2 separate regions of the Homo sapiens genome follow, and region 2 is linked to region 1. Evidence: promoter capture Hi-C in 16 types of primary human blood cells and fetal thymus (Javierre and others, 2016). All regions are on one chromosome and are shown on one strand. The core of a region is centred on a gene start or on the middle of the fragment in contact, and the rest is flanking DNA. Distances in the headings are between cores, read along the strand shown. Region 1 holds the start of ASAP3 (ArfGAP with SH3 domain, ankyrin repeat and PH domain 3). Region 2 has its middle 21 kb from the start of MDS2.

What was found. The method cuts DNA at HindIII sites, captures the fragments that hold promoters and counts their contacts. A CHiCAGO score of 5 or more calls a contact.
Region 2: a contact is called between a fragment that was not itself captured here and the fragment with the promoter of ASAP3 in region 1, in 1 of 17 cell types (neutrophils). The highest score is 5.7, in neutrophils.

What each region holds. Positions count from the first base shown.
Region 1 is chr1:23,482,728-23,487,606 of GRCh38, reverse strand. ASAP3 (ArfGAP with SH3 domain, ankyrin repeat and PH domain 3) reads left to right here and starts at 3,428. Exons shown (of 25, transcript NM_017707.4): 1 at 3,428-3,602. The coding sequence starts at 3,474. RefSeq lists an enhancer at 2,564-2,663 and silencers at 2,854-2,903, 2,914-3,023, 3,144-3,593. The HindIII fragment of the contact is 9,206 bases long and covers 1-4,879 here.
Region 2 is chr1:23,603,572-23,608,224 of GRCh38, reverse strand. No RefSeq gene overlaps it. Among named protein-coding and RNA genes, the nearest start is that of MDS2, 21 kb to the left of the region's middle. The HindIII fragment of the contact is 5,891 bases long and covers 1-4,204 here.

The sequences.
Region 1 (4,879 bases), core at 2,179-4,678:
ACCACTTGAGGTCAGGAGTTGGAGACCAGTCTGGCCAACATGATGAAACCCTGTCTGTACTAAAAATACAAAAAATAAAAATATAAGTAAATAAAAAATAAAAATAAAAAATTAGCTGGGTGTGGTGGCATGGGCCTGTAATTCTAGCTACTCAGGAGGCTGAGGCACAAAAATCCCTTGAACCTGTGAAGCAGAGGTTGCAGTGAGCTGAGATCACACCACTGCACTCCAGCCTGGGCGACAGAGAGGCATCACGTCTCAAAAAAAAAAAAAAAAAAAAGAGAGAGGTTGAACTAGCTGGGCGTGGTGTCATGCACCTGCAGTCCCAGCTACTTGGGAGGCTGAGGTGGGAGGATCGCAAAAGCCCAGGAGGTTGAGACTTCAGGGAGCTGTGATCACTCCACTGCTTGGAGTGACAGAATGAGACCCTGCCTCAAAAAAAAAAAAAAAAAAAAAAAAAAAGAGGGGGCCGGGCGCCGTGGCTCATGCCTGTAATCCCAGAACTTTCGGAGGCCGACGCGGGTGGATCTCCTAAGGTCAGGAGTTCGAGGACCAACATTGAGAAACCCCATCTCTACTAAACATACAAAATTAGCCGGGCATAGTGGCGCATGCCTGTAATCCCAGCTACTCTGGAGGCTGAGGCAGGAGAATCGCTGGAACCCGGGAGGCGGAGGTTGTGGTGAGCTGAGATCGCACCATTGCACTTCAGCCTGGGCAACAAGAGTGAAACTCCGTCTCAAAAAAAACAAAAAAAAAACAAAAAGAAGAGGGGTGGGGAGGCTGGGAGAAATTTGATCACAGGGAAGAAGGCAAGTAAGATGCTTGAAGATGCTGCTGCCCTTGAAGGTGGAAGGTGCCATAAGCCAAAGAATGCAAAAACTACAGCTCTCGAAGCTGCAAAAGCAAGAAAACAGATGCTCCCTTATAGCATCCAGAGGAAGTACAGCCCCACTGATACCTTGATTTTAGCCCAGTGAAAGTTATTGCAGACTTGTGACCTCCAGACATGTAAAAGAATAAATGTGGCCAGGCGCAGTGGCTCATGCCTGTAATCCCAGCACTCTGGGAGGCCGAGGTGGGCGGATCACCTGAGGTCAGAAGTTCAAGACCAGCCTGGCCAACACGGCGAAACCCCGTCTCTACTAAAAAATACAAAAATTAGCTGGGTGTGGTGGCACGTGCCTGTAATCCCAGCTACTCGGGAGGCTGAGGGAAGTTATTGGTGATTTGTTATAGTAGCAACAGGAAACTAGTACAGAAGACATCAACATTACCGTTGGGATTGGATGAAGAAATCCAGGAAGGCTGATAGAGTGAGACATGCAGAGGATTTAGCAGAGAGCTCCCAACAACTCCAGCATTTAAGATCCCTGCGGAGGAAGTGCATCTCAGAAAGGGCTCTTGGAACAGCCAGAGGGAGAGGGCCACCAAAGAAAATAGTTCTCCTAGGATTCAGGGGCAAGGGTGTTTCAAGGAGAAGGGAGTGGTTAACATTGTCAGATGCTCCTAAAAGTCAAGCAAGAAAAGTGCCTAAGCTCAGGAGTTTGAGGCTGCCTTGAGCTATGATCATTGCACTGCACTTCAGCCTGGGCGACAGAGTGAGACCTTGTCTCTAAAAATAAATAACAAGAAAAGTGCCTATTTGGTTTCAACAGGAGAAGTTGACCTTGAAAGAACTCTTGGAATAGTTGTCGTCTCTATCAGATGGTACACATTTTTTTCAACTTTTAATTCTTTTTTCTTTCTTTTCTTTTTCTTTTTCTTTTTTTTTTTTTTTGAGACAGGGTCTCACTTTGTCACCCAGGCTGGAGTGCAATGGCAGGATCTCAGCTCACTGCAAACTTGACCTCCCAGGTTTAAGCCATTTTCCTGCCTCAGCCCACCAAGTAGCTGGGACTACAGGCAAGAGCCACCACGCCGGGCTAATTTTTGTATATTTTGTAGAGACAAGGTTTCGCCATGTTGCTCAGGTTGGCCTTGAACTCCTGAACAATCCGCTCACCTCGGCTTCCCAAAGTGCTAAGATTACAGGCATGAGCCATCGCTCCCGTCAACTTTTAATTCTATTACACAGTAGTATATGGTCATTGTATAAAAGTTAGGATATACAGATTCACCAAAAGAAAAGAAAGTTACTCATAATGTCTTCAGCTAGTGCATATCTGTCTTCAGCTAGTGCATAAAATGTTGCTGGTGCAACATTTTAGTGCATATCTTTCCGGATTTTTTCTTTTCTTTTCTTTTCTGTGCGAGAAAAGAAAAGATTCTCTCAATCGCCGCCCTGTGGGGTAAAATACCATGAGGCCATTTTAAGAGGGGGAAATGCAGGCTTAGAGAAGCAAGCAATTTATCCAAAGTAACCAAGATTGGAATCTAGGTTCCTCTGACTCCAAAACCAATGTTCCTTGCTGCGGTGCTTTCCTAGCTTTTTACTTGGAGAACTTTTCCCCAGAGGACCTCAGGCTTCAGAACTAAACCTAAGTGGATTTCTATCCTGAACCCCATCCCTCATCCGCCCCAAAGGATGGTGAGCCAGATTAAGGGGTGAAAGGCAGGAGCAGGAAGAGTAAAGGCGTGGGTGCGATCTATGGTCGGGTAAGAGGGAACTAGTACACGCACGTGTTCGGTTCTTCGCAACATCACAATCAAGCGGGCATCAGGCTTCCCATTGTACAGATAAGGAAACTGAGGTTCCAGAAGAGAAGTAATTTTCCCCAAGTCACACAGCTAGCCAGGGGCCCCGATCCACACATCCCCGGGGCGGCGGGGGTTATCAGGAGGGAGTCTCCGGATGCCTGCAAAGCTGAGGCTGAGAGCTGGGCGTACGCAGCAAAGGAGGGGTGGGGCGATTCGGGGCGGAGCGAGGCAAGGAGATTGGGCGGGACTGGGGAGAGAGGAGGGAAGGGTGGCGGGGGGGTGGTAGGGCAGAAGGGGCGAGGTCATGGGGAACTCGGAACGAATCAGCAGAGGAGGGAGGAAGAGGGAGGGGGCTCTAAGACTCGACGCGGAGATGGAACAGCCTGGGCCGTGCAAGGGAGGAGGATTTGGAAGACCCAGAGCGGGATGAAACGGGACAGAGCCCTGAAGGGGCAGGGATGGGGGAAGGCGGAGGAGTTTCTACTGAGGCCAGGGGTGGGGCATCGCGCCAGGGGGCGGGGTCTGAGGCGGTGAGGGGCTGGGGGCGTGGCCTAGGGGGCCGGCGAGGGGCCGGGGAAGCGGCCTGACGCGGTGCGGGGCCGGGACCGGGGCCGGAGCCTGGACCTTGGCGGTGGAGGAAGGCGAGGAGCCGGGGGCGGGGCCGTCCCAGCTGAGGAGCGGAGAGCGGCTGGAGGGTCGGGGGCGGGGCGTGCGGAGGGGCGGGGCGTGTGGAGGCCGGGACGGCGCCCCCGGCCGGCGGTGAGGCCGGCTCAGCGCGGAGCAGCTCAGTGCCCCCCGCGCCCCGCTCCGGCAGCTCCACGCTCGCGCCCGCCATGCCGGAGCAGTTCAGCGTCGCCGAGTTCCTGGCCGTCACCGCGGAGGACCTCAGCTCCCCGGCTGGGGCCGCCGCCTTCGCCGCCAAGATGCCCCGGTACCGAGGGGCGGCGCTGGCGCGGGAGGAGGTGAGGGGGCCGAGGCGGGAGGGGTCGGGGGTCGGCGCCGGGCCTGGCCTTGACCTCCACAGGCGTGTCGCACCCGAGCTGCGATGGCCCTTCACCGCGCCCCGAAACCTGCCCCCTCCCTAGGTCTGGGAGGACCGAGCGCATCTCCAACAGCTGCGTCCTCACCGTCGAGGCGGGGGAAGGCCCGAGGGACCGTTTTGGGGGGCCTCGAGGTCTCTTCGATGACAAACTCCACAGGTCGGGGGACGTACCCCAAGTGCCCCGCGTGACCGCCTCATCACATATGTGTTTGCCTAGCGCCTTCCAGCCTCAGTTTGCGTTTTCATCTTCGGAGCCCCACAAGTGTGCCCCCCGAGTCACTCCCCTTCTGAGAGGCAGGCTTCCCGCCTCAGTCCTGAACTTTCTTCCCCCCGGCTGCAGAGAGGCCCCCTCCCGCTTGCGGCTGGTTCGGAGATTTGGCCCGCGTTTGTGGAATGAATGCGGATGGGAAGGCGCCAGGAGCCGGGGTTCACCTTGGCCGGGCTGTTGGCAAGTTTATCGTCTCCTCTCCCCTCCCCTCTCCTCTTTGTCTTTCCCAGCAAAGCGTCCCAGGCCTTTTCTTTCGGTCTTGCAGGCTGCCCCACCCCATTCCCATGCTCTTCGGAGTTCCTTCCATTCCTCTTCTCTGAACCTGCTGCAGCTTTCCGCAGCTCCTCTGCAAAGAATATTCTAGGACAGACACCCCGTGGCCTTGGTCCAACGGAGAATAATGTGTTTTTGCAGCTCCCCATCCAAAGGATGCCCTCAATTTGGGTGGCATTTTGGACCTCAGCAACGGCTCTAGCCTTCCACCCTTCACCTTAAGTGTACTAGGCACCCACTGCGTGGCAGATACAAAGCTCAGTAGTTCATAACACCCTGCGCCAGTGTCAGGAAATCTGTCCTCTTCTCTCTTGTCAGGGTGACCCTCCATCTCGGAGTCTGTTTGTATCACTTTGTAAGGGTGATAGAGGATTGTGGAAGGAGCATCGACTTTGGGGAAGGCAGACCTTTTTTCTTTCCTTTTTTTTTTTTGAGACGGAGTCTCGCTGTGTCGCCCAGGCTGGAGTGCAGTGACGCGATCTTGGCTCAATGCAAACTCCGCCTCCCAGGTTCACACCATTCTCCTGCCTCAGCCTCCCGAGTAGCTGGGACTACAGGCTCCCGCCACTACGCCTGGCTAATTTTTTTTTTGTATTTTTAGTAGAGACGGGGTTTCACCGTGTTAGCCAGGATGGTCTCGATCTCCTGACCTCATG
Region 2 (4,653 bases), core at 10-2,509, 120 kb before region 1:
GCAGCGATTCAGACCAGCTAGGGACACAAAAGAACTTGTCACAGAAGCCGATGGGAGGAAATCAAGGAGAACTGGCCTCTAGCCAAGATTTCACCCCAGGTTCTCAGCAGGAGTGACTTAGGAATGGTGTCAACTTGGAAGTTTGCACCATTTTTACCTGGCCTTGCCTTCTCTTGGCACAGTGCAGTCTCCAGGACATCAGACCTGAGGAGCATCCAAGTTAGTCCCCTTATTTCAAGTCAGGGAAACTGAGGCCTGAAGTGGCGATGAGACATGCCAAAGTTACACAGAGAGTTAGGGGATCCAAACCCAGGTCTCTTACTCTCAGGCTAGTGTACTGTCCACTGGAGTCTCCCTCCCCCATCCGGAGCACACACTAGATTCTAAACACTCACAACCCCTCAGTGGCTGGCATAGTGCTGGGCCCAGAGAAAGTGACCTCTCCTACTTCCACTGGGTACCTGCCCTGTCCCCACAAATAATCAGATTGATAGAACTCATTCACACTCCCTCTATTCTCCCATTTAATCCCCATAACAGTCCCAGGGGACTGGAATTACTATTCCTTTTTGCAGATGGGGAAAGAGGGCAGAAGGGGCTTGCCCAGAGTCACCCAGCTCAGACTGGGGAACGGGTTTGCCCAGAGTCACACAGTTCAAATGCAGCAGAGCCAAGGTCCTGACTATACCCTGTACTTGATCTAAGACCCTAGGTGGCACTCACATAGCCTTGAATGTTCTGGCCCCCAATGGACCCTGTGCCATTGAAGTCAGGGACTGTGGACAGGTATGTTCTGCAGGGACAGAAACCAAACCAGGGAACAGGGCTGGGAGGTGGGGGAAGGACTCAGGAAAGGAAACCTTGTTTTCACCTGTAACCTGCTCTGCCCCGCCCAGCAGTGGAAAATGTGTGTCAGGGGAAGCTGCTGCCTGGGGACCAGGCAGGTGTGCGTGGGCAACAGTGTGTGGAGGGGGCGCCACGGGAGGGCAGGATGTGCTGGGGTTGGGGGCAAGGTCAGGGGTGCTGGAGCAGGGTTCAAGAACCTAGAGTAAGACTCTCACTTCTGGGCCAGGCGTGGTGGTTCACGCCTGTAATCCTAGCACTTTGGGAGGCCAAGGCGGGTGGATCACGAGGTCAGGAGATCGAGACCATCCTGGCTAACATGGTGAAACCCCATCTCTACTAAAAATACAAAAAAATTAGCCGGGCGTGGTGGCACATGCCTGTAGTCCCAGCTACTCGGGAGGCTGAGGCGGGGGATCGCTTGAATACGGGAGACAGAGGTTGCAGTGAGCCGAGATCATATCACTGCACTCCAGTCTGGGCGACAGAGCGAGACTCTGTCTCAAAAAAAAAAAAAAGACTCTCACTTCTAGAAGGATGGGCACACTGTCCTATGAAAGCTGTCCCCAACCTCTACATCCCAGACCTTCTTGGCCTCAGCCAATTCTCTGCTCAGTGGGTCATTCAACAAGCGTGCATTGAGCACCTGCTGCATGCTAGGACCCAAGGATGCAGAATAGCCCCTTTCCTACCCAGAGAAGAGTACAGTCTGGAAGAGACAGGCAAGGCAGAGAGCTCCAATACCATGTGGGTAACACAATCCAGCGAGAGGCTGAGTCAGTGGTCAGGGAGGCATTCTGGAGGCCAGTAGGCCAAGCAGGTAATAATAACCACTCTAGGCCACTCATGGAGGCCCACACCCGTTATCCTAGCACTTTGGGAGGCTGAGGTGGGAGGATCACTTAAGGCCAAGAGTTTCAGACCAGCCTGGGCAACATTGCGAGACCCCATCTCTACAAAAAATTTAAACATTAGCCAGGTGTGGTGTCATGTGCCTGTAGTCCTAGCTACTGTGGAGTCTGAGATGGGAGGATCACCTGAGCCCAGGAGTTTGAAACTGTAGCGCACAATGATCGTGCTACTGCATTCTAAAATCATCCCTATCTCTAAAATAATATAATAATAATAACCACTTTTGTGTGCTTACTACAAGCCAAATTAAAGAGCTAAGGCCCCGTAAGGCTTTTTAATACCTTTCCATCCTCAAACAACCCTGTGAGCTAGGAACTGCTAGTATTCCCCTTTTACAGTTGAGGAAATTGAGGCATTGAGAAGGGAAGAACTTGCCCAAGTTCTCACTGCTAGATGCTAGGAAATGGCACGGCCAGGACTTGAAACCAGGCGGTCTGCTCTTACCTACTCCACTAAGGAAGGGGAAGTGGGAGCTGGTGTTGGGAGAAAAGGCGGGGGGGAACATGGAGGGAGCAACCGGAGGAAAAGCCCAAACAGAAGATGATGTGCTGGAGCCGAGAGGGGAGGGGAGGGAAGTCGCTGAGTGGAGGGGCCAGGGAGCAGCCAGAGCCCAGGCAAAAAGCCCCTCAAAGCATTGCCGTGGGAATGGGGACCTATACACGGTTGTTCCAGAGAAGAGCCCCCCCTTAGAAGTGGTGATCAGTGGGGGCCCAAACAGACAATTACATGTGATTTAATTTTTTTTTTTTTAGACGGAGTCTCGCTCTGTCCCCCAGGCTGGAGTGCAGTGGCGGCATCTCGGATCACTGCAAGCTCCGCCTTCTGGGTTCACGCCATTCTTCTGCCTCAGCCTCCCGAGTAGCTGGGACTACAGGTGCCCGCTACAATGCCTGGCTATTTTTTTTGTATTTTTAGTAGAGACGGGGTTTCACCGTGTTAGCCAGGATGGTCTAGATCTCCTGACCTCGTGATCCACCCGCCTCGGCCTCCCAAAGTGCTGGGATTACTGGGCGTGAGCCACTGAGCCCGGCCTTTTTTTTTTTTTTTGAGACAGGGTCTCGCTCTGTCACCCAGACTGGAGTGTGGTGGCATGATCTTGTCTCACTGCAACCTCCGCCTCCCGGATTCAAGCGATTCTCCTGCCTCAGCCTCCCAAGTAGTTGGGACTATATGTGTGCACCACCACGCCTGGCTAATTTTTGTATTTTTAGTGGAGATGGAGTTTCACCATATTGGCTAGGCTGGTCTCAAACTCCTGACCTCAGGTGATCCACCCGCCTCGGCCTCCCAAAGTGCTGGGATTACAGGCGTGAGCCACTGCGCCTGGCCTGATTTAGATGCTATTAGTTTCCTAGGCTGCTATAACAAAGTACCACAAGCTGGGAGGCCTAAACCAACAAAAACGTTTTCTCTCCCAGTTCCAAAGACCTGAGATTGAAATCCAGACGTCTTCAGGGCTGTGCTATCCCTAAGAATCTGAGTAGAGTCCTTCCTTGCCCCTTCCTAGCTTCTGGTGGTGGCCGTCAGTTCTTGGCATTCCCTGGTTTTCGACAAACACCCCTCCAGTTTCAGCCTCCGTCATCTTGTGGCATTCTCCCTGTGTGTCTCTCTCCTCTTCGTATAATGACACCAGTCATATGGGATGAAGGGCCCATCCTGCTTCAGTATGACCTCATCTGAACTAATTATACCTGCCACGACCTTATTTCCAAGTAAGGTCACATTCTGAGGTACTACGGGTTAGGACCTCAACATATATTTTGGGGGGACACAATTCAACCCATAAAATGTCATTAAAGGACTTTTCATATAAACAAATGTCAAATCTGAAAAACTTCTATGCAGTTCATGTGTCCCAGTTTGATGTTCAGAAAATATAGCCTCAATATATCTGTCCACTACACTAGAACTTTACCCTAGTGGGTACTAAATGAAGGTTTGAGAAATACTTGACTTGTGGTCCCCTAAGGCCCTGAGGTCTTTCCTTAATAAGCCCAAAGAATAGAATAAACATCTCCAGGGAACAAAGTCAAGCTGCCCTCTGTCCTGTATAGCCGGCAGGCAGTTGCTCCACTGACCCCCAGCCTCACCTTCTGCATGGGCACTAGCTTGGGGAAATAGCCAGTAGTGAAAAGGACAGAGGGACCTCAGCACCCTTGCTCACTGGATTAAGCGAACCCACAGTTCTCAGTCCTCTCCCTCGCTTCCCCATCCAAACAGGCTCAGTCTGCTCCATTCAGACAAATGCCCATCTCCATCCCTGCCATGTAGACCCGGTTCAGGCCTTTGCCTTTACCTCTGGAACTATTGCCTCAGTCTTCAGACTGATTTCCTTGCTACCAGCAGGCAATCAGGTCACCCTAAATATGAATCTGATCACTTCTCTCACTGCCATAAAACTTTCGATGGCTCCCTATTGCTTTCAGAATAAAGTCCGTATTCCTAAGCTTGCCATTTCAGGCTTTACAATTTGGTCCCCAGGCTTGTTTTTCATGATTTCTCTACATGTGCTCTATCTTACAGGTAATGGAGTTTCTGGAATTTCTAATTAAAAGAGACTCCGTTGGTGGTGGGTGAGGGGTGCATTCTGATTAGAAGGGGACACAGTGGGGAGGCATGTCTTTTTTTTTTTTTTTTTTTGAGACCAAGTCTCATTCTGTCACCCAGGCTGGAGTGCAGTGATGTGGTCTTGGCTCACTGCAACCTCCGCCTCCCAGGTTCAAGTGATTCTCCTGCCTCAGCCTCCTGAGTAGCTGGAATTATAGGCATGTGCCACCACACCCAGCTAATTTTTGTATTTTTAATAGAGATGGGGTTTCGCCATGTTGTCCAGGCTGGTCTCAAACTCCTGACCTCAGGTGATCCACCCGCTTCAGCCTCCCAAAGTACTGGGATTAC